7 separate regions of the Homo sapiens genome follow, and all the other regions are linked to region 1. The links are contacts of gene promoters, found by promoter capture Hi-C in blood cells and fetal thymus (Javierre and others, 2016). All regions are on one chromosome and are shown on one strand. Each heading gives the region's core, a stretch centred on a gene start or on the middle of the fragment in contact. The rest is flanking DNA. Distances are from core to core; before and after follow the strand shown.

The links. Contacts are between HindIII fragments. The CHiCAGO score rates a contact against its expected background, and 5 or more counts as called.
Region 2: a contact is called between a fragment that was not itself captured here and the fragment with the promoter of BOLA3 in region 1, in 1 of 17 cell types (non-activated CD4 T cells). The highest score is 5.1, in non-activated CD4 T cells.
Region 3: a contact is called between a fragment that was not itself captured here and the fragment with the promoter of BOLA3 in region 1, in 1 of 17 cell types (naive CD8 T cells). The highest score is 5.9, in naive CD8 T cells.
Region 4: a fragment that was not itself captured here is called in contact with the fragment with the promoter of BOLA3 in region 1 in 17 of 17 cell types (activated CD4 T cells, naive CD8 T cells, total CD8 T cells and 14 more); the score reaches 21.2 in activated CD4 T cells.
Region 5: a contact is called between the fragment with the promoter of INO80B here and the fragment with the promoter of BOLA3 in region 1, in 11 of 17 cell types (fetal thymus, total CD4 T cells, naive CD8 T cells and 8 more). The highest score is 12.5, in fetal thymus.
Region 6: a contact is called between a fragment that was not itself captured here and the fragment with the promoter of BOLA3 in region 1, in 17 of 17 cell types (activated CD4 T cells, naive CD4 T cells, total CD8 T cells and 14 more). The highest score is 28.6, in activated CD4 T cells.
Region 7: a contact is called between a fragment that was not itself captured here and the fragment with the promoter of BOLA3 in region 1, in 3 of 17 cell types (activated CD4 T cells, non-activated CD4 T cells and naive CD4 T cells). The highest score is 6.2, in activated CD4 T cells.

What each region holds. Positions count from the first base shown.
Region 1 is chr2:74,146,642-74,149,181 of GRCh38, forward strand. It overlaps BOLA3 (bolA family member 3), which reads right to left and starts at 1,271. Exons shown (of 4, transcript NM_212552.3): 1 at 1,180-1,271. The coding sequence starts at 1,233. It overlaps BOLA3-DT (BOLA3 divergent transcript), which reads left to right and starts at 1,340. Exons shown (of 3, transcript NR_045636.1): 1 at 1,340-1,582; 2 at 1,709-1,837; 3 at 2,057-2,540. RefSeq lists a silencer at 1,012-1,491 and an enhancer at 1,025-1,684. The HindIII fragment of the contact is 11,442 bases long and covers 1-2,540 here.
Region 2 is chr2:74,527,019-74,529,558 of GRCh38, forward strand. AUP1 (AUP1 lipid droplet regulating VLDL assembly factor) reads right to left here. Exons shown (of 12, transcript NM_181575.5): 2 at 2,344-2,481; 3 at 2,114-2,264; 4 at 1,733-1,917; 5 at 1,399-1,471; 6 at 1,230-1,303; 7 at 922-988; 8 at 718-820; 9 at 453-572; 10 at 230-345; 11 at 1-41. It also overlaps a transcript of HTRA2 not described here. Among named protein-coding and RNA genes, the nearest start is that of AUP1, 1.4 kb to the right of the region's middle. RefSeq lists enhancers at 2,132-2,540, 2,134-2,540. The HindIII fragment of the contact is 826 bases long and covers 859-1,684 here.
Region 3 is chr2:74,476,372-74,478,911 of GRCh38, forward strand. The region is part of intron 5 of CCDC142 (coiled-coil domain containing 142); the gene reads right to left. Among named protein-coding and RNA genes, the nearest start is that of MRPL53, 5.0 kb to the left of the region's middle. The HindIII fragment of the contact is 6,387 bases long and covers 1-2,540 here.
Region 4 is chr2:73,842,985-73,845,524 of GRCh38, forward strand. STAMBP (STAM binding protein) reads left to right here. Exons shown (of 10, transcript NM_213622.4): 3 at 1,829-1,904; 4 at 2,183-2,278. All of the region lies in intron 1 of LOC112268419 (a long non-coding RNA gene), which reads right to left. Among named protein-coding and RNA genes, the nearest start is that of STAMBP, 15 kb to the left of the region's middle. The HindIII fragment of the contact is 1,321 bases long and covers 617-1,937 here.
Region 5 is chr2:74,453,818-74,456,357 of GRCh38, forward strand. INO80B (INO80 complex subunit B) reads left to right here and starts at 1,270. Exons shown (of 5, transcript NM_031288.4): 1 at 1,270-1,357; 2 at 1,589-1,781; 3 at 2,001-2,119; 4 at 2,286-2,455. The coding sequence starts at 1,300. INO80B-WBP1 (INO80B-WBP1 readthrough (NMD candidate)) reads left to right here and starts at 1,206. Exons shown (of 8, transcript NR_037849.1): 1 at 1,206-1,357; 2 at 1,589-1,781; 3 at 2,001-2,119; 4 at 2,286-2,455. RefSeq lists an enhancer at 784-1,373. The HindIII fragment of the contact is 3,309 bases long and covers 1-1,750 here.
Region 6 is chr2:73,863,811-73,866,350 of GRCh38, forward strand. It overlaps STAMBP (STAM binding protein), which reads left to right. Exons shown (of 10, transcript NM_213622.4): 10 at 1-2,540. Among named protein-coding and RNA genes, the nearest start is that of ACTG2, 28 kb to the right of the region's middle. The HindIII fragment of the contact is 256 bases long and covers 1,149-1,404 here.
Region 7 is chr2:74,417,205-74,419,744 of GRCh38, forward strand. All of the region lies in intron 1 of C2orf81 (chromosome 2 open reading frame 81), which reads right to left. It also overlaps the pseudogene HMGA1P8. Among named protein-coding and RNA genes, the nearest start is that of C2orf81, 3.1 kb to the right of the region's middle. The HindIII fragment of the contact is 4,299 bases long and covers 1-2,540 here.

The DNA of each region.
Region 1 (2,540 bases), core at 21-2,520:
TCATGGGTGCTGGTGCTGAAGGTCCCACCCCTCTACCCCTCAGTCCTTCCTGATAGCTCAGAGCAGGGTCCTGTGTCACAGAATCTCAGAGCACCTCCTTTAAAATGAGCTGTGCACTGGCTCTCTCACCACTGGTCTTATAGGCCAGGAATGAGTCCGGCAGCATCCCAGAGCTGACCCCAGGGCAGGCCCTCAGAGGCACTTGGTGCTGGATGAATGAATGAGCAGGGGAAGAACTAGTCAATTAGGGACAGAAATGCAAGACAGGAGAAAGGTCCAGAGTGTGATTGTCTGCCTGCTGTGTGGAGGGACAGAAACTCGATGTTGAGAGGCTGGACAGGATTGCCAGGAGTGAGGGTGGGGTGGAGCTGCTTCTGGGGGCAGAATCTTGAGGGTAAAGGCAGAGAGTAACCAGATGGCAGACAGAATCGGCAGCTACTAAGGGGTGAGAGAGGTGAGCGTTGCAGAATCCTTGGGAGAAGCCTTTCATCTTAGCGGATCTGTGGGCAGCGGCCTTTAGTGGAACAATCAACTGACATCCCCAGATGATCACTGTCCACGCTGAAAGTCACCGCAGTGGAAGAACTTCTCTTCATGCACAGGGCAGGCAGGTTCAGAACCAGGGGAGAAGGAAAATGAAAGTTAAGAGAAAGAATGGTATGAGCTGAAGCAAAGGATGGTTCAGAAAGGGGGAGAGATTAGGAGAGCGCGTGGGAAGTGCCCCCTGCTTGGGTTCTGCTCCGGTAGTGTGGGATTTGGAGGAGGATCAAGGTCAGAGGCCCAGTCGACCTTCCCAAGGCCCCGGCCCCGCTGCAGTCCCTCGCACCCACGCCTTGACTCTGGGCTATGACTCCTGTCTTCTGCTCGGTAAACCAATCCTTTTTTTTTCCTGTGCCCGCAGTATTATGACTGTTCATGTGTCTGTCCGCCTGACCTCCAACCTCCACCCAGCTCGGGAGCTCCCCTAGAGCGCGCCAGAGCTTGAAATTTCGAATGCCGTTGTCGCTGAGTGAATGAATGAATGAAAGAATGAATGAGAGAAAGGAAGAGGAGCCCCCCATTGCCAGTGCCGCGCGCGCCCTCCGGGAGCCAGTCCTCAAGCCCCGACAGCCGCCGGCCCCGCGGTCCCTCCGCAGCTCCCGTCCCGGGGAGAGCAGCCCCGACCCTGCCCACGCTCACCCCGCGGATCCCGCGGAGGAGAGGCGCTGCCGCGGCCGGGCTCCATGCAGCCATGCCCGGCCGACGTGACCCGCCGCCCGAGGTCACTGTATGCCCGAAAGACGCGGAGCGGGGGACCGAGAGCCGCCGCCGTGGGAGAGGCCGCCCCCTGCCGCCCGGAGGCCGTCAGCCTCCCGGCCCCGCCCCGGAGGCCTCCGGTCGCCTGGCTCCGGCCCCACCCCGCCATCCCCTGGCCCTGGCTGACTCGCCACCCCCGACACTGCAGCGCCTGCCGACCTCGGGGCCCCGCCCTCTGCCTTCGCTCGCGCCGCTCTCCTTCAGTCTCCCCAGGGCCTGTTTCATGGATAGGGTCCCCTTGCCCGCGTGAAAGTCTCATTCCTCCTCAGCTCAGAAACACTCCAAGGTCTCGGCGCCCTATACTGGCCTTCCCTCATCCGAATACCCCTCGTGCTCCTGATGTACTTTTCCATTCCCACTCCCTACTCTGGCAGTCTAGCTTCTAAGCTGAGGAGTTTGGCCTTCGCTCCAGGTGCGGGGACTCGTGGAAGGATTTGATTCGCGCTTGAGAAAGATCGCTCCGCTCCTGTAAGGAAGAGAGCGTGTAGGGGCTGCAACCAGAGACACAGTCAGAAGCTCCGAGGCTACCGCGATGGTCCAGGTGAGAATGGAGGGGCCTAACTAAACCAGTGGCGGGAGGGATGGAAGAATGAACTGAGACACTTGGGAGGTGAATGGAATCGAGCGACTGCATGTGGAGGTGTGAGTGGGAAGGTATCTGAGATGACTCCAGTTTCTGGCTTGGACAATGACTTGGATGGAGGGTTAGGTGGGGGCTGAGCAGAGTCCACGAACAGTTCTTAATTTGCCTGAGTTTAAGGTGCCACAGGACACAGCCTAACAGAGGCCCAGGTTGGAGCCATGGACCATGGAGTCATGAGAATGGAAGGGAAGCTGACGCCATGTGGGATGGGGTAGAACTGTCCGCAAATTCGTCCCGCCTCTGGAGTCTTCAGACCAGTCAAGGCCGAAATTCAACCAAGCCTCTCCTCTCTCTAGCTGTTATTTGTTTGCAGCACGCGGTCTGGTGGCACCCTGCAGGATTTACCAGCTTTTTGCCAACATTCTGGCCTATGCAATCAATACGTCCCTTCAGCGTTGCACTTGGATGGATTGGACCTATAGTTGTTATATATGGATATTGTCTAATTTATTTATTACAGTATTAACTGACTCCTATGTTCTGGCCTTCAGAATTTCTCCTTTGGATCAATTACTAGCCTGTCTTACATTTTCTGCTTCATTCTTTTAAAATGTTTAGAGATGATTTGCTAAGTTTTCTTCATTGCTGTCAATGATGCAAT
Region 2 (2,540 bases), core at 22-2,521, 380 kb after region 1:
AGGGCTGTTGGCTGAGGGGTCACCGGGCCAGAGCTGGGAAACTGAGGTGATCACAATGTCAGAGGGCTTGCGGAGTCATCATCATTAAACACGCATCGAATGCCTACTTTGCAAGAGAGGCACTATGCTAGGGTCTCAGGATCAAAAAAGAAAGGTCAGGGATAAGGGAGTACATAGCCTGCCCCCAACTCACCCCAACACTTGGATCTGACCATTTCCTGGGTCTCACCTTGGAGGCAGAGGCTGTGGGTAGGGACTGAGTTCCCTTGGTGATGTCTTCAGGCATGAAAGCTACGGCCCCCTCAAGCAGATTAGTGATAGTCAAGTCTACACAGCCAGTCTTGGCTGGGGAGAAAAGAGAAGGGAGTCCACTCCCTACTTACTTTCTTCCTTCACAACCCACTTTTCCTCCCTGTGCCCATCTCCCAGTGTGGGGCCACCCTTTCCCATACCCAGGTCTCTCTGGATGACACCCAATGGCACATGGGGCAAAACTTCCTTGACTCTCTGAGCCAGAGTTGCCAGTTGCACATCAGGAGAAGGACCAGGGGAGGGAGGGAAAGAAGACTGGGCTGTGGAAAAAGGAAAAAAAGAAAAAAGAAATTCTGGTAAGTAGAGAACTAGAAGGAGAGGCTAACTAGCACAGAAATAGGGGAGGAATCACAGTAGGCCGAAAAAAAAAAACCCCAAAAGCTGTAATGTATAGAGACCACATACCTGACTGGGGGCGCAATCTGGGGTGTCTTTGTCGCTTCATGTGCTCTGCTTTGTCAGCTGGAGTGAGCCGTGTCCCTGTCTGGCCCAATTCCTTGGCCACCAGCTAGGGAGAATTGGAAGACTGGAAGTGTCAAGATCTCAAGCTTTCCTCCCTCTCCTCCTAAGCAGGGACCCCGCCTCCACCCTGTCTGTGCACCCGACCACCTGTTGTACACGGAGTGCAAACTCCTCATTCGCTTCCCCTAGTTGGCGATGAACAGGACGAAGCCACCTGCAAAGAAACAATCCAGGGCTATGTTGTGGGCACCCAGGGTAGAGGCTGTCACCATTCCCCACTTTGGTACCTCTTTGCATGGTGGGTGGGAAAATAGTAAATACTGTAAATACTTTGTGTTGCCTCTGTGGTAGAACCTTGATATAAAGATCTACAAATGGACAGGGCAGAGGCCACTAATTCCTTGACCTTGAGGTGAGCCTCTCCCCAGCGACCAAAATGTGAGGACAGTTAATACCTTACTTGATACACCGTGAAAGGGACGAAAAGTGACCACAGCAGTTCTGAGACCCAGGAGGCATCTGACACCGTCTGAGGGGAGGGCATGAGATGAGGCCTAAGCCAGGGCCAGGGATGGGAAATTTCCCCTTCAAGCCCCAGAGATTCCCTGTTCAACACACACTCACCACAGAGACCAGGGGTCTCTGAACTTGCAGGGTAAGAGGTTGTACCACATCTTGGATAGAAAATGGCCAGGAACTAGAAGAGGAAGGAGAAAGTAGGATGGGAATCCAGCCAGCCTAGTCAGCAGCTCACACCTGCCTTATAACAGGCAACTGTCAAACTCTACAAGCACATAATTGAAGAATGAAGGGATTCAGGAGAAAGAACTTAAAGTGGACAGAAAGGAAATGAACTGGAGATGATGGGGTCTAAGGGCCGAAGAAAGTTGTAAAAACTCAAGGGCCCACAAGCTTGACCACCTACCCAGCTGGCGCCCCATACCTGTGCTAAACCCACCTGAAGCGCAGGAGCCCCTCCCGGCCATTGGTGGCCTCTTCCTCAGGGAATAGCAGCAGAGGAGTGGGGGGAAGCCTCGTGGAAGCACAGAATCTCTTGAGTGACTCCACCAACTCCCCCCGCCCATTCATCTCCATGAAGCCCCGAGACCAGCACACAAAGCTGGGGGGACTATTGAGTAGAGGCTGGGAACCAGGAGAAGAGAAAGCAAGAAGAAAAATATTGAGGAAAATGAAAAAAAAAACTGACATGTTGGGTAGAGGATCGGGGTTAGGGGTAAGGCTCAGTATCCTCCATGGGGAACGCGAGTGGGGACAGGGGGGCCTTCAGCTGGGCCCCAGGGAACCGCCCCGTGGCGCTCTCGGCCTCGCTCTCACTCACGGTGCTACAGGTGGTAAGCAAATTGACTATGTTGTGGTCGAAAGGTGTCACATGGTTGGAAATGAGGACCCTGACACTGTGATCCCGGAGTCCGGAGTCCTCCTGCCGGGCCACGAGCCCTAGCACCGCACACATGGTCCGCACTACGAATCTGGGGACACAGGAGGTGGTGACTGTGTGGCCTCGGGCCAGACCCAGCTCTGACACTCCCCGAACGCCCGCGTCGGAACCTGCGAAGGACGCTGTCTGGCAGCGCGCAGCTGACCAGGAAGACGTGGATCCCGAGAAAGAGGCGCAGGACGAGGAGGCAGAACCCGACTGGCGCGTAGAGCAGCAGCACGAGCAGTAGGAAGCAGTCACCCGGAAGCCTGGGGGCGAGAGGCGAAGTGGTCAGGCGCCGAAGGCCGAGAGCACGCGGGGATCGGTC
Region 3 (2,540 bases), core at 16-2,515, 330 kb after region 1:
CATGTTGGTCAGGCTGGTCTCAAACTCCTGATCTCAGGTGATCGGCCTGCCTCTGCCTGCCAAAGTGCTGGGATTACAGATGTGAGCCACTAAGCCACTACACCCAGCCTACAATGATCTTTTGGTTATCACCTACAAAAGGAAGACAAGAACTGTATGTAAACCAGAAGCAATGACTATTTGAATGTTCTGAGACTCAGGAAGTTTTGGAATGTCCTTACATTGAAAGGCATTATTATATATTATTATTCTTCACAGCCCACTCCAGAGCAATATAACCCATAAAGCAAGAAAAGGCCTATATGCTGGGTTTGTTTCTTTGGTTTGATAGGTTGTTTTTGGAGGGAGAGAACACAGCAATAAAGCTGGTTTCTGCTCTACAGCCCATCTTGAGGGAGAGGAACCCCAGTAAATGTGGTTAATGGCAGCTGCTCTGTAAAGAAATGGTAGATGCCAGGGAGCCTGAAGACAGGATAGACCTGGGGGCGGCCAGACATGGAGTGGAGCCCATATGGCTCCTGGCACATCTGACAACCTGTCTAAATCCAAAATCTTCCTCTCTTCTCCAGTAAATGCAAGCCCCCTTCTCCTCCCTTATTTATGTCAAGGAAATTGCCCTTTTGTCAACGGACTTTTGTTAGGAGCCTCTGTACTCAACACTGAGGGAATACAAGGTGCAGAGTGTGTGACAGTCTCTCCCCCACCCACTGGGATCTTATAGTCCAAACAGGAAGAAAACTCACAATGCCTCTTTTTTTTTTTTTGAGACCAAGTTTCGCTCTTATTGCCCAGGCTGGAGTGCAGTTGCGCAATCTCAGATCACTGCAACCTCTGCCTCCTGGGTTCAACCGATTCTCATGCCTCAGCCTCTGAGCAGCTGGGATTACAGGCACCCGTCACCATGCCTGGCTAATTTTTGTATTTTTAGTAGAGATGGGGTTTTACCATGTTGGCCAGGCTGGTCACAAACTCCTGACCTCAAGTTATCCACCCATCTCGGCCTCCCGAAATGCTGGGATTACACCCTTCTGCTCTTAAAATGTCACCCCCTCACTTATGAGGTAAAGCGCAAATTGTTGGGGCTGGTGTTCATGCCCTCCACAATTTGATGCCAAATTGCTTACTACCCTACCCCACACCCAACCCCAGTGAACATACCCACAAAAGGAACCTCTGCTCTGGTAAGGCCACCTCTCTGCTACCCCCACAAGGATCTACAAACTGCCCACTTCCAGTAACCCCAGCCACTCCTCTGAGGCTTCCCAGCCACCATCTCCAGCCATAGGCCATGTATGGAGCGTTCTTTAACCACATGCCCACTATAGCCTTCCTTCCTCAGGGCTCTATGACCGTCACTGTGTGCAGTACTCATGATGAGCCTGCTCTGGGGCATGTTGAGTTTAAGTAGACAGCAGTAAACTGAGGTAGAAATGCCCAACAGGCAAATGCAGATGTTTAACTAGAACTCTGGGAGCCAGGCTGGGTGTGGAGGCTCATGCCTGTAATCCCAGAACTTTGGGAGGCCAAGGCGGTGGATTGCTTGAGCTCAAGAGTTCAAGAACAGGGCACATGTTCTCAGATCTCCTGAGGGCTATGTCACGAGCCAAACTTCTAATTAAAAAAAAAATATATATATATATAAATAGATATAATATAAATAAAATATATATAGATATAATATAAATAAAATATATATATATACTTTTTTTTTTTTGAGTCTCACTCTGTTGCCCAGGCTGGAATGCAATGGCACGCTCTCGACTCACTGGAACCTCCGCCTCCCGGATTCAAGTGATTCTCCTGCCTCAGCCTCCCGAGTAGCTGGGATTACAGGTGTACACCACAATGTCCAGCTAATTTTTGTATTTTTAGAAGAGACAGGGTTTCACCATGTTGGCCAGGCCGGTCTTGATCTCCTAACCTCAGATGATCCACCTGCCTCGGTTTCCCAAAGTGCTGGGATTACAGGTGTGAGCCACTGCACCTGGACAAAAAATTTTTTTGTTTTCTGTTTTTTTTTTGAGACAGAATTTTTGTTCTTGTTGCCCAGGCTGGAGTGCAATGGCGCTATCTCGGCTCACTGCAACTTCCGCCTCCTAGGTTCAAGCGATTCTCCTGCCTCAGCCTCAGAAGTAGCTAGGATTACAGGCACCTGCCACCATACCGGCTACTTTTTTGTATTTTTAGTAGAGACGGGGTTTCACCACGTTGGGCAGGCTGGTCTTGAACTCCTGACCTCAGGCGATCCACCCACCTTGGCCTCCCAAAAAAGTTTTTTAAAAAGATTTTTAAAAAGGGTTCAAGACCAGCCTGGGCAACATGGCAAAACCTTGTCTCTACAAAAAAAAAAATTTTTTTAAGTAGCTGGGCATTGGCCGGGTGTGGTGGCTCACACCTATAATCCCAGCACTTTGGGAGGCTGAGGTGGGTGGATCACCTGAGGTCAAGGGTTCCAGACCAGCCTGGCCAACATGGTGAAACCCATCTCTACTAAAAATACAAAAACTAGCTGGGCGTGGTGGCAGGCGCCTGTAATCCCA
Region 4 (2,540 bases), core at 27-2,526, 300 kb before region 1:
ATTCAGCCTGCTAAAGGTAGTAAATATTAATATGTATCTTGGCTTTTGGGGCTAAGATGAGAGTTCTACTGAATCATCTATCAGTCTCTAAAATATAAGAAATATGTCTTATTTATCTTAATAGATTCTTCAGGACTTTATGGTTTGAACAAATGAATCTGTATTTCTTTTAAATATAGACTTCAAGGAAACTGTTTTATATCTTTCTTTTTTTTTTTTTTTTTCCAAATAGAGATAGGATCTCCCTCTGTCACCCAGGCTGGAGTGCAGTGGTGTGATCAAAGCTCACTGTAACCTCAGACTTCTGGGATCGAGAGATCCTCCTGCCTCAGCCTCCCAAGCAGCTGGGACTACAGATGCATACCACCACACCCAGCTAATTTTTGTGTTTTTTTATGTTTTGTTATATATGTTTGTGTATGTATATATATATATGTATATATATATATAAATTAAAAAATATAAATAGAGACAAGGTCTCACCCTGTTACCCAGGCTGGTCTTGAACTCCTGGGCTCAAGCAGTCTTCCTGCCTCGGTCTCCCAAAGTGCTGGGATTACAGGCATGAGCCACCGCACCCAGCCTCTTTTATATCTTCTTCATGAACCCAAAAGGAAGCTTTTTAAAGAACCATTTTTATTTTAGAGTCCATCCCTGCCTTGAGGAGCCTTATCAAGTTGGATCAAAATGAAACTTGTGTGCCTAATATAGAACTGAAGGATGAGGACTTATCTTTAGAAAGTTTGTTTTGGTGGGGATCATCTTTTTTCTTTATTGAGGATTCTTCTTCCAATTACTTCTGCCCCATGGGCAGTAAGTAGAAAAGAGTTTATCCCAATTACAATATAATATTTTAGAGCTATCAGCAAGCTACCTTCAATTTATTTTTTTATCTCAGTTTCTGTGTATTACAACTTAATTCTGTTAAAAGACATCTTTGTTCAGAATCCCTCCAGTAGTTCTAGACATTCCAGAATCCGTATGGAAGAAGTATGGTGTAGTGGTTAAAAGAATAGGCTCTGGAGCCAGCCTGCTCATACTGAAATTCTGAATCTGCCACTTTCTTTCTGTGACAGGTTACTGGACTTTTATTTATTTTCACTGCCCCTAAGTAGATGTCTTAAATGTTAGAGATTTGTGAATTAATTAAGTTTATTCTCCCCACTGAGCTTTAGAGCCATGGACAAGAACCAAAAGATGAAATCTAGCATCTTATATTTACCTAAGCACTTTTCATCAAAGACAGTGCATGCTAACATGTAATATGCACATACTACATGCATAGAACACATGCACTAAGTATTTCCATGCATTTTTGTATGATGCAAAGTAGTATTCTTCTTTGAAGGAACACGAATCCCAAAGGAAAAAAGCCAAAGTTAAAGGTTACATAAGAGCTAGAAGGAGTAAGGAAACATGGTTTTCTCTTGCTTCCTGCCCATGGCTGCCAAACGGTTCTCTGAAGACTGCTATGTGACAGAAGCCCTTTCCTTTGAAAACCTGTCACGTCACAACAAGAAAAAGATCTCTTTCTTTGGAGGTACATTTTTGGGCACAAGAAAGGCTTTTTAAAATTTTTTTGGCCATCTTTTTCATTGTAGGAGTCTGGTGCTTGCTGCCTAGTTTGGGAGTAGAGGAAAAGACTCTGGCTCTTTAGGGGGATAGAGATGGGAAAGGAGCATGGCCCAGCTGGGTGTATTAGCTCTCCCTCCGCTGCACTTCTGGAACCTTTCATATAAGGGCTTCAGGATAAGGGGGTTGCATAGCTTTAGGGTCTTATGGACATTTGGACCATTTGCTTCATAATCATTTTGAACTGTTTCCTTAGGCTCTTTATTGAGAAACTACCAAAACATCGAGATTACAAATCTGCTGTCATTCCTGAAAAGAAAGACACAGTAAAGGTGGGTCTTCACTTTCATTGTTGCCCATCTAAAAGCTTCAGAGCAGCACAGACTGACTTCAAGATAAAAGTAGTAGTCTCTGCATCTGAGTACCAGATCCTGCAATAGGAGATAAGGCCATTTCACCACAACAGTTCTGAAGTAGCAGGTATGGTACAGTAGGGGGTATTTTAAATCATTTTGGGAAATGTTGCAGTCACCAACTTGACTTAAGTCTTCTTTTGGATTCTGTAATTTTCTGGCATTGTTCTAATTCTATTTTCTGTTTTGTGTCTCAGAAATTAAAGGAGATTGCATTTCCCAAAGCAGAAGAGCTGAAGGCAGAGCTGTTAAAACGATATACCAAAGAATATACAGAATATAATGAAGAAAAGGTCAGTATATAACAGCTAAGAAGAAAATTATTTTGCTTTTTTAGGCTGTGCCCTGGGATTGTAATATGACATTTCAATATATCCTGTGCTTTTAATGTGCTGTTTCACCTTTTTTGGGCAAAGACCAGAAACTCAAAAAAGTAGAACACCAGTGGTTAGGCTCAGGGTTGTAACACAGATATAGCCTATTTGTCGAAGAGAGTGACTTGAGGGACAGAAAATCTGTCGCCTACCTGCTATGTCTAGAGTGAGAATCATAAGA
Region 5 (2,540 bases), core at 20-2,519, 310 kb after region 1:
ATATATTGGCTGTAAGAAAATACATTACATACCTAAATAGTGAAAGTTCCTCAACCCCAACTTCTACAGTTAACCAACATTAACAGGTATACATTCCTCAATTTTTTCTATGTATTTGCTAGTATATTATGCTTTTAAAAATCAGATCACATAATCTTGAAATTTACTTTTTTTTTTTTTTCTTTTTTTTGAGACGGAGTCCCGCTCTGTCGACCAGGCTGGAGTGCAGTGGCGCGATCTCGGCTCACTGCGACCTCCACCTCCCGGGTTCAAGCGATTCTCCTGCCTCAGCCTCCCGAGTAGCTGGGACTACAGGCGCGTGCCATCACGCCGGCTAATTTTTTTTTTTTTTTTTGTATTTTTAGTAGAGACGGGGTTTCATCGTATTAGCCAGGATGGGAAATTTACTTTTCTTATTTCGTGTATCAGCACATACAAACCTACCTGTTTTTATGTCTTTTTTAAAATGAGGTAAAATATACACGTTTTATACAAAATTCAAAAGGCACAAGAGGGTATAATCATAAAAAAATAGGTCGCCATCCACCCTTGTTCTCTAGATGCTCATCAGCAAATGACTCTTACCAATTTCCTAGATAGCCTTCTGGGGCGCCTCATTTCTTTTCCAAGCTGCTTAACATCCCACTGTATGGATACACCAATTCATCAGGACACTTAGATTGTTTAAATTCTGTGTCAATCTCATTAATTACTTACAACTCAACTTTTCTTAGCAATATGGTGTTCCGCATTGTACAGCTGCACCGTAATTCATTTATTCATTTCCCTACTTATGAAAATTGAAGTTTAAATACCTAAACTGCATCTGCTCTTAGGGCACTCGTGCTGTTTAACCATTTCGGCCATTTTGTCATCAATATAGTTTATGTATTCCTCCACCCAACTGTGAGTTCCTCAAGGACAGGGGCGGTGTTCATATTCATCTTTGCATCCTCTTAGACTAGCTTCCCGCACTTGGTCTAGTGTATACATTCACCAAACTTGTGTTCAATAATTGACTCATCCGCGCTGAGTTCTGAAAGCTAGCGTGGGGAGGCGGAGCCAGGGGAAAGCCCTGCCCATTTGGGCTGTCCCGACCTCAGAGGGACCGGAACGTTCGTTGGAAGGATCCTCGTTTCTCAGGGACGATTTTGGACGCGAAGCGTGCCCCGCACAAGGATGGTTGCCATGAACCGGAAGTAACTGGTTGTTTTGCTGGCTCCAGTTTTTCCGCGGGGCGGAAAAGGCGTGTCTGCGTGTGTCCCAACCATTTCTAGTCCCCTTTCCTCGCAGGACCTCATGAGTAAGCTGTGGCGGCGTGGGAGCACCTCTGGGGCTATGGAGGCCCCTGAGCCGGGTAAGCGCGAATAGATCAAGCAATTTAGGTCGTGTTAGAAAAGAAGTCCCGTTCTTGCTCCTCGGAGAGTCCAGGGTACTTCGGCCACAGGTGGCAAGGAGAAAGGCGGTGCTGTTGTTATGGTAACAGCGAGTACTGCGGGAAGGGTGGGATCCAGTAGGGGCTTAGGTTATTCAGGGCTTCCCCTGCCACCCTCCGGCCAAACACTGTCGACAGGCTTTCCTTCCACAGGAGAAGCCCTGGAGTTGAGCCTGGCGGGTGCCCATGGCCATGGAGTGCACAAGAAAAAACACAAGAAGCACAAGAAGAAACACAAGAAGAAACACCATCAGGAAGAAGACGCCGGGCCCACGCAGCCGTCCCCTGCCAAGCCTCAGCTCAAACTCAAAATCAAGCTTGGGGGACAAGTCCTGGGGACCAAGAGGTGAGGCCAAGAGGGTCATAGTTTTATAAGGGGAACTTTAGGAGCAGAGATAGTAGTTAGAAGCCGACTGGGCTTTCTAGAAGACCGAATGGACACTGTGACTTCAGGGTCCAGATTTAGGCAGCAAGAGTCTAAGAGGGTGGGGAAAGTTGGGTGTAGCTACGGAGTAGGAGGAGGAGACGCTTGCTCATTTTAAAGAGTAGTGTTGCTTCTCTGCAGTGTTCCTACCTTCACTGTGATCCCAGAGGGGCCTCGCTCACCCTCTCCCCTTATGGTTGTGGATAATGAAGAGGAACCTATGGAAGGAGTCCCCCTTGAGCAGTACCGTGCCTGGCTGGGTGAGGATCTGGAGGTGGGGAAACTGGGTTTCTTATTATACCCGCCTAAAGAAAGAAGGTTGGTTCTGAAATGGGTTAGGATTTTCCATGTCCCAGTATTAACTCAGCCAAATTAGGGTGCCCCATCTGAACAATTCTGTTTTTCTTTCTCCAACTTCCTTCCCAGATGAAGACAGTAATCTCTCTCCCTCTCCACTTCGGGACCTATCAGGAGGGTTAGGGGGTCAGGAGGAAGAGGAGGAACAGAGGTGGCTGGATGCCCTGGAGAAGGGGGAGCTGGATGACAATGGAGACCTCAAGAAGGAGATCAATGAGCGGCTGCTTACTGCTCGACAGGTATGTTGGTTCATTGTTTATTCACTCACCAAATGTATACAGTATTGAGAACTCTCCACGACCCACGCACTTTGCGTGGCATTGG
Region 6 (2,540 bases), core at 27-2,526, 280 kb before region 1:
TATTTCGACTGTAGCCGTTGGCTTTTACCAAGTCTCTTTGTTTTTAGCATTTCTTCATTCCAGTCTGTTCTGCACACTTTGATCAGGAGAAGCTTCTCACATTCCAGCCATGTTCATGTTTTCTCTCTTGCTCAAAAACCTGCAATAGCTTCCCATTGCTGAAAATCTAAATTTAGCTTTTAGTCAGAACTTTCCACTTAAAGTTCTTACCCCTGGCTATATATTCAAATATCTAGGGAGCAATTTAAAAAATACTGATGCCTGTGTTCTACCCCCCACCAATTAAAGCTGAATCTCTAGGGTGGAGCCTCAGATGTTGTTTCTGCATTTGTCTTTCAAGCTGCTAGAATTCTCAAGTACAACCAGGGTTGACAACCACTGCATTGGTCTTTGATACCTAAGAATTGTGAGCTCTCTTATCCGTCTCTGCCCACCAAAGACATTCAGCCAGGTCAACAACATATCATACGTTGCAACCACATTGATCACAGACTGATCACCAAACTGCTATATTTTCTTTTCTCTTCCTCTAGGCACAAGATATCTTAGTGGCTAGATGGGTGCAGGAAATCAGTCTGTAGATCCCTCTTCATATCTGCTGCAGCCTAGCCACTGCAGAGGCACTCTGCATAGGATGGTCTAAGTGTCTCTGTCTTCATCTTACCTCTGTGGAGGAGACGTGGAATCAAGCCAGCCCACAAGCCCTGAGACTGGATAGGCCGGAGAGAAAGAGGAGTAGCCAGAGCGGTCGGGAAAAGAGGAAAGGAATACTGTGGGTAAAAGGGACAAAGACCACGCAACCTGAGGAAAGACATTGTATTGAAAGGGTAATGACTATTTGGCTAAAGGGACTGACTCCTGGGTTCCCGAGGCTCAAAGACCAGGAGACTTTTCCACTCTTGCAAGCTGCACAAGTACCATACTTAGTGTTCTGGGCTGAGAGGGGAGACAAAAGCATCGTCAGGTTGCCAAACAATGTCCCAGTTGCCCTGGGAGGCACAAACCTACCAAAGTGCCATAGGCCAGGTGCAGAGAGAATCAGAGGAGCTGATTTGCTTGGGGTCAGAGCAGAGCTGGGTTTTTTCAGATGATCACTTTCACATACTCCTTGTTAAATGGGACCAAAGGGGAAGAAGAAGAAACCCTTAAGCTTTTGTAATATTGTCTTGGGTACCAGATACCATAAAAGGCAGCATGAGAGAAACATTCCCTTGGGCCAGTGTCATGGTGGATTTTCTTGCTTGAGAGGCAAGGATTTCAGCTTTCATTTGGTACCACAGAATTTAAAATTGTAAGTGCCTATCCCTTTTGACTGTTGATGGCTTCTTTGGGGTTTTAGTTACCCCAGTTGAAAGAGAAATTTTTCATATTGGGGTTGAGAAGAATGGAGGCTATTAGGAGCAAAGCTTTAATGAGTGAAAGTCTGGTGAATCCTGCAATTTTGATATGTTTCCAGTGGATTTTGAGAACACAGTTTTAGGACCAGAGTAGATGTTGTTCCCTAGAAAATAGAGTCAGCTATTGATATTGTGCCTCCCATCCCTCATATCTCAGTGTTTTAACCCCACCTGAGTTTGGAGACCAGTTTGTCCAAGGATCTTTCAAACATGTGAGCCCAGAGTAGAACTTCTGAGTCAAGGATCATGTCTTTTTCTGAGGAGCTTTGCTTGGGGCACTGGAAATCCTGTTTAGATCAGGACTATTGGAATATTATCCTCTCCAGGGGAAGTGCCAGGTTGAACATTTAAGGCTTTGCTTCTAGGCCCAGCTATACATTCACCAGCAAATCACTTAACTTCCTAAATTTCTTTAAAATCTGTAAAATGGGATCAGTCTAATATGCCTACCTCAAATGATGACAGAATGACATCTATATGCATATGAGGCCTACGTTAGTTGAAAGATGCTATAAAGATATAAGGGATTTGTTACTTGTCTTTCTTGAAATGTTACAGTTGGGGTGCGGTTGCTTCTATCTTCTGGACCTCTGCCCATTCAGCATACAGCTAGAGGAATCTTTGGGCAGATCCACATTCTTTAGCACTAGCTAGGCTTTGACTCCAAAGCTATCTGGTCTACCTTGATGTTCTGAGCAGGAAAACTGAGGACCTCAAGAACCATTCCAAATTTCTACTCATTCTCCCTAAGACCCAGAGCAGACCCAGGACCTAAAGAAATTACATCATCTCTATTTTCCCTTGGCTCCAGCCCACTCTTGTTTGAACCTCCCACTTTTGTTGTTCCAACTACTTCTTGAGATGAAGGAAGGGCAGAACATTGGCCCTCTTCACTGAAGTCTTCACCCCTTAATCCAGGGTTCAATTTTTAGTTCACCTTAGCCTGTTTGAGATTAGAAGCTGGGCCTTAACTTACAGGTGTGTCCGGCATCATTCAATCAGCCTGTTAGATCCAGAATCCAGCACTGTGACGCTACATAACCATGGGCTCTGTCCTTCCAGTTCCTTTAGTGCCTTCCCTCACTGGTAGGTTCACTCTGAGGGCTTCCTTCCTTGAACTCCAGTGGCAACTATAGTCTGTTT
Region 7 (2,540 bases), core at 12-2,511, 270 kb after region 1:
GAACCAGAACCTGGGGGGGTGGCAGGAGCAGGAGGGCTGGGAGTGGGAAGGGTGAGCTCCTTGTTATTGGTGCCCCATCTGAGGAGAGGAAAATGGCCAAGTGGTAGAAGCAAAGTAGGGTTGGGGGAGCAGCCCCAGCCCACCTCAGGTAGCTGCCACAGGGCTCATGGGCCTCACCTGGACAATAGGTGACTGCATCTCCATCACTGCAATATGTACTCAGATCCCAGGCAGACGGTAAGGGGGCTGGGGCCACTGCAAAGAGGGAGTAGGGGACTCACACCCCTCCCGCTTTCCTGTAGCCAATGGGGGCTGTCCAACCTAGTGCAGGGACTAGGGAAGGTGGGGAAGGATGAAAGGTGTGAGCCTCACGTGGTGACAAAGACAGTTTGGCTGGGGGAATCCTGGGGGCCAGCACCCCCCTCCATTGGCCACACCTGCTGCTGCCAGGACAGTGGAGTGGGGTGTGCCAGAATGGGGGCTTGGGCCCCTTTTAAGACCAGGGGAACCCTCCCAGGCCCCTCTATGGGAAGCCAGAGGCAACAGTGGAGGAGCAGAGAAGTGGCTCCCAAACCAAAAGCCCAGAGAGCAATGTCACCACCAAGGGATCAGGGACGCAGCAGGTGCAGGGTGCGGCTAAGCAGGACATTAGCCTTGTCCAGGAGGGCACATGTGTATGAGTGGGTGGACGGGGGGAGGAGGGGGTAGGGATGGGAAGAGGCCAGGGGAAAAGTCCTCTCCACTCAGCCCATAGGGACCTGCAGCGGCTGGTGTGTTGTGTAGTGTGGTGGTGAAGGTGCAGGTGGAAGATGAGGGTGGTGGCTGGAGGCGGTGGTGATGGTGGGTGTAGGGAAGGGGTGGGGGGTGGGAGGTGGGGGGTTGGGAGCAGATCAAAGCTGTCCAGTCCCAGAAGGAAGCTGCTCCTCCAGTGAGGACTCCTGCGAGATGCCCTTCTCTTCCTCCTTCTCCAGTTTTTTGGGTCTTCCCCTTGGTTTCCTTCCCAGAGTTGTGGTGGTTTTCCCGGTCTTGGCAGCACCCTTGTTTTTGCTTCCCTTTGGTCGGCCCCGAGGTCTCTTAGGTGTTGGCACTTCGCTGAGCTCCTTCTGACTCCCTACCAGCGCTGTCCTGGGACTCACCGGAGGCTGCTTGCGCGGCCTGCCACGGCCCCGCTTCTCAGTGCCGTCCTTTTTCTGCTTGGAGGCCAAGGGCTGGCTGGACTTCGAGCTCGACTCGCTCATCTTCCCTTCTCTAAGGACTAGTTGGAAAAGTGATGGCTGGGATGGGCGAACTCGGCCGCTGGCCTGCGGTGCATGCTCCGGTTTGCCGGGAGCAGCGGTGCTGGGCGCTGAGGACAGGCCAGTCTCCACCGCAGCCGCCCCTGGTCGCAAATGCGGATGCCTTCCTGGAGCCGCGCCAGCGCCAGAAATAGCCCAGGCTCGGAGTCCCACTTAGAAGAGCACAGCCCCGGCTCAGGGGAGCTTAAAAAGTTCTCTACATTTTTTTTTTTTAACCAACTATTCTTATCTCCATTTTATGGTAATTTACCCAGTATCATACAAGTAGGATGTAGTGAAGTCAGAATGCATTCACATGCAAGTCTGTCTGACTCCAGAGCCTCTCAAAGACATTTGCAACAAATATGAAAAAAGATAAATATCCCCGAGTAAATTAAAAGCTCATATAAAAAAAAAAATGGCCGGGCGCAGTGGCTCACGCCTGTAATCCCAGCACTTTGGGAGGCCGAGGTGGGTGGATCATTTGAGGTCAGGAGTTCGAGACCAGCCTAGCCAACATGGTGAAACCCCGTCTCTACTAATAATACAAAAATTAGCCAGGCATGGTGGTGGGCGCCTGTAATTCCAGCTACTAGGGAGGCTGAGGCACGAGAATCACTTGAACCCGGGAGGCAGAGTTTGCAGTGAGCTGAGATCATGCTACTGAACTCCAGCCTGGGTGACAGAGCGAGACTCTGTCTCAAAAAAGAAAAAAAAAACTAATAAAATAAAAAATAGAAGAAGAAAAATGGCCAGGCACAGTGGCGCACACCCACAGTACCAGCTGCTCGGGAGGCTGAGGCAGGGGGATTGCTTGAGCCCAGGAGTTCAAGTCCAGCTTGGGCTATATTGCAATAAAAATTTAAACTATAAGAAGAAAAACCATTTAAGATCCCAAAGATAAGCAAAGGACATGACATTTCACAAGAGAGGGACTGTAGATGACTAATAAATATAGTATTGACATTCTGATTTCTAGTTCATCAAATTGGAATTATTTTAAAAACAAGAATACTCAGCATTGGCAAAGGTTTAGTGTGATACCATGCTGCAACAGTATGCATGAAGACATTAAAAAATGTTTTCACTTCCTCAACCCTGCAATTTCAGTTCTATAAATACAACCAAAAGGCATTTTCTGAAATGAAGATAAAAATATATTCTCCAACAAATTCTCTGCGGTATTTTTATAATAGCAGAATATTGAAAACATGTCTTTAAAAAGAGAATAAATAATTGACATGCTATATATACTGAAATATTATG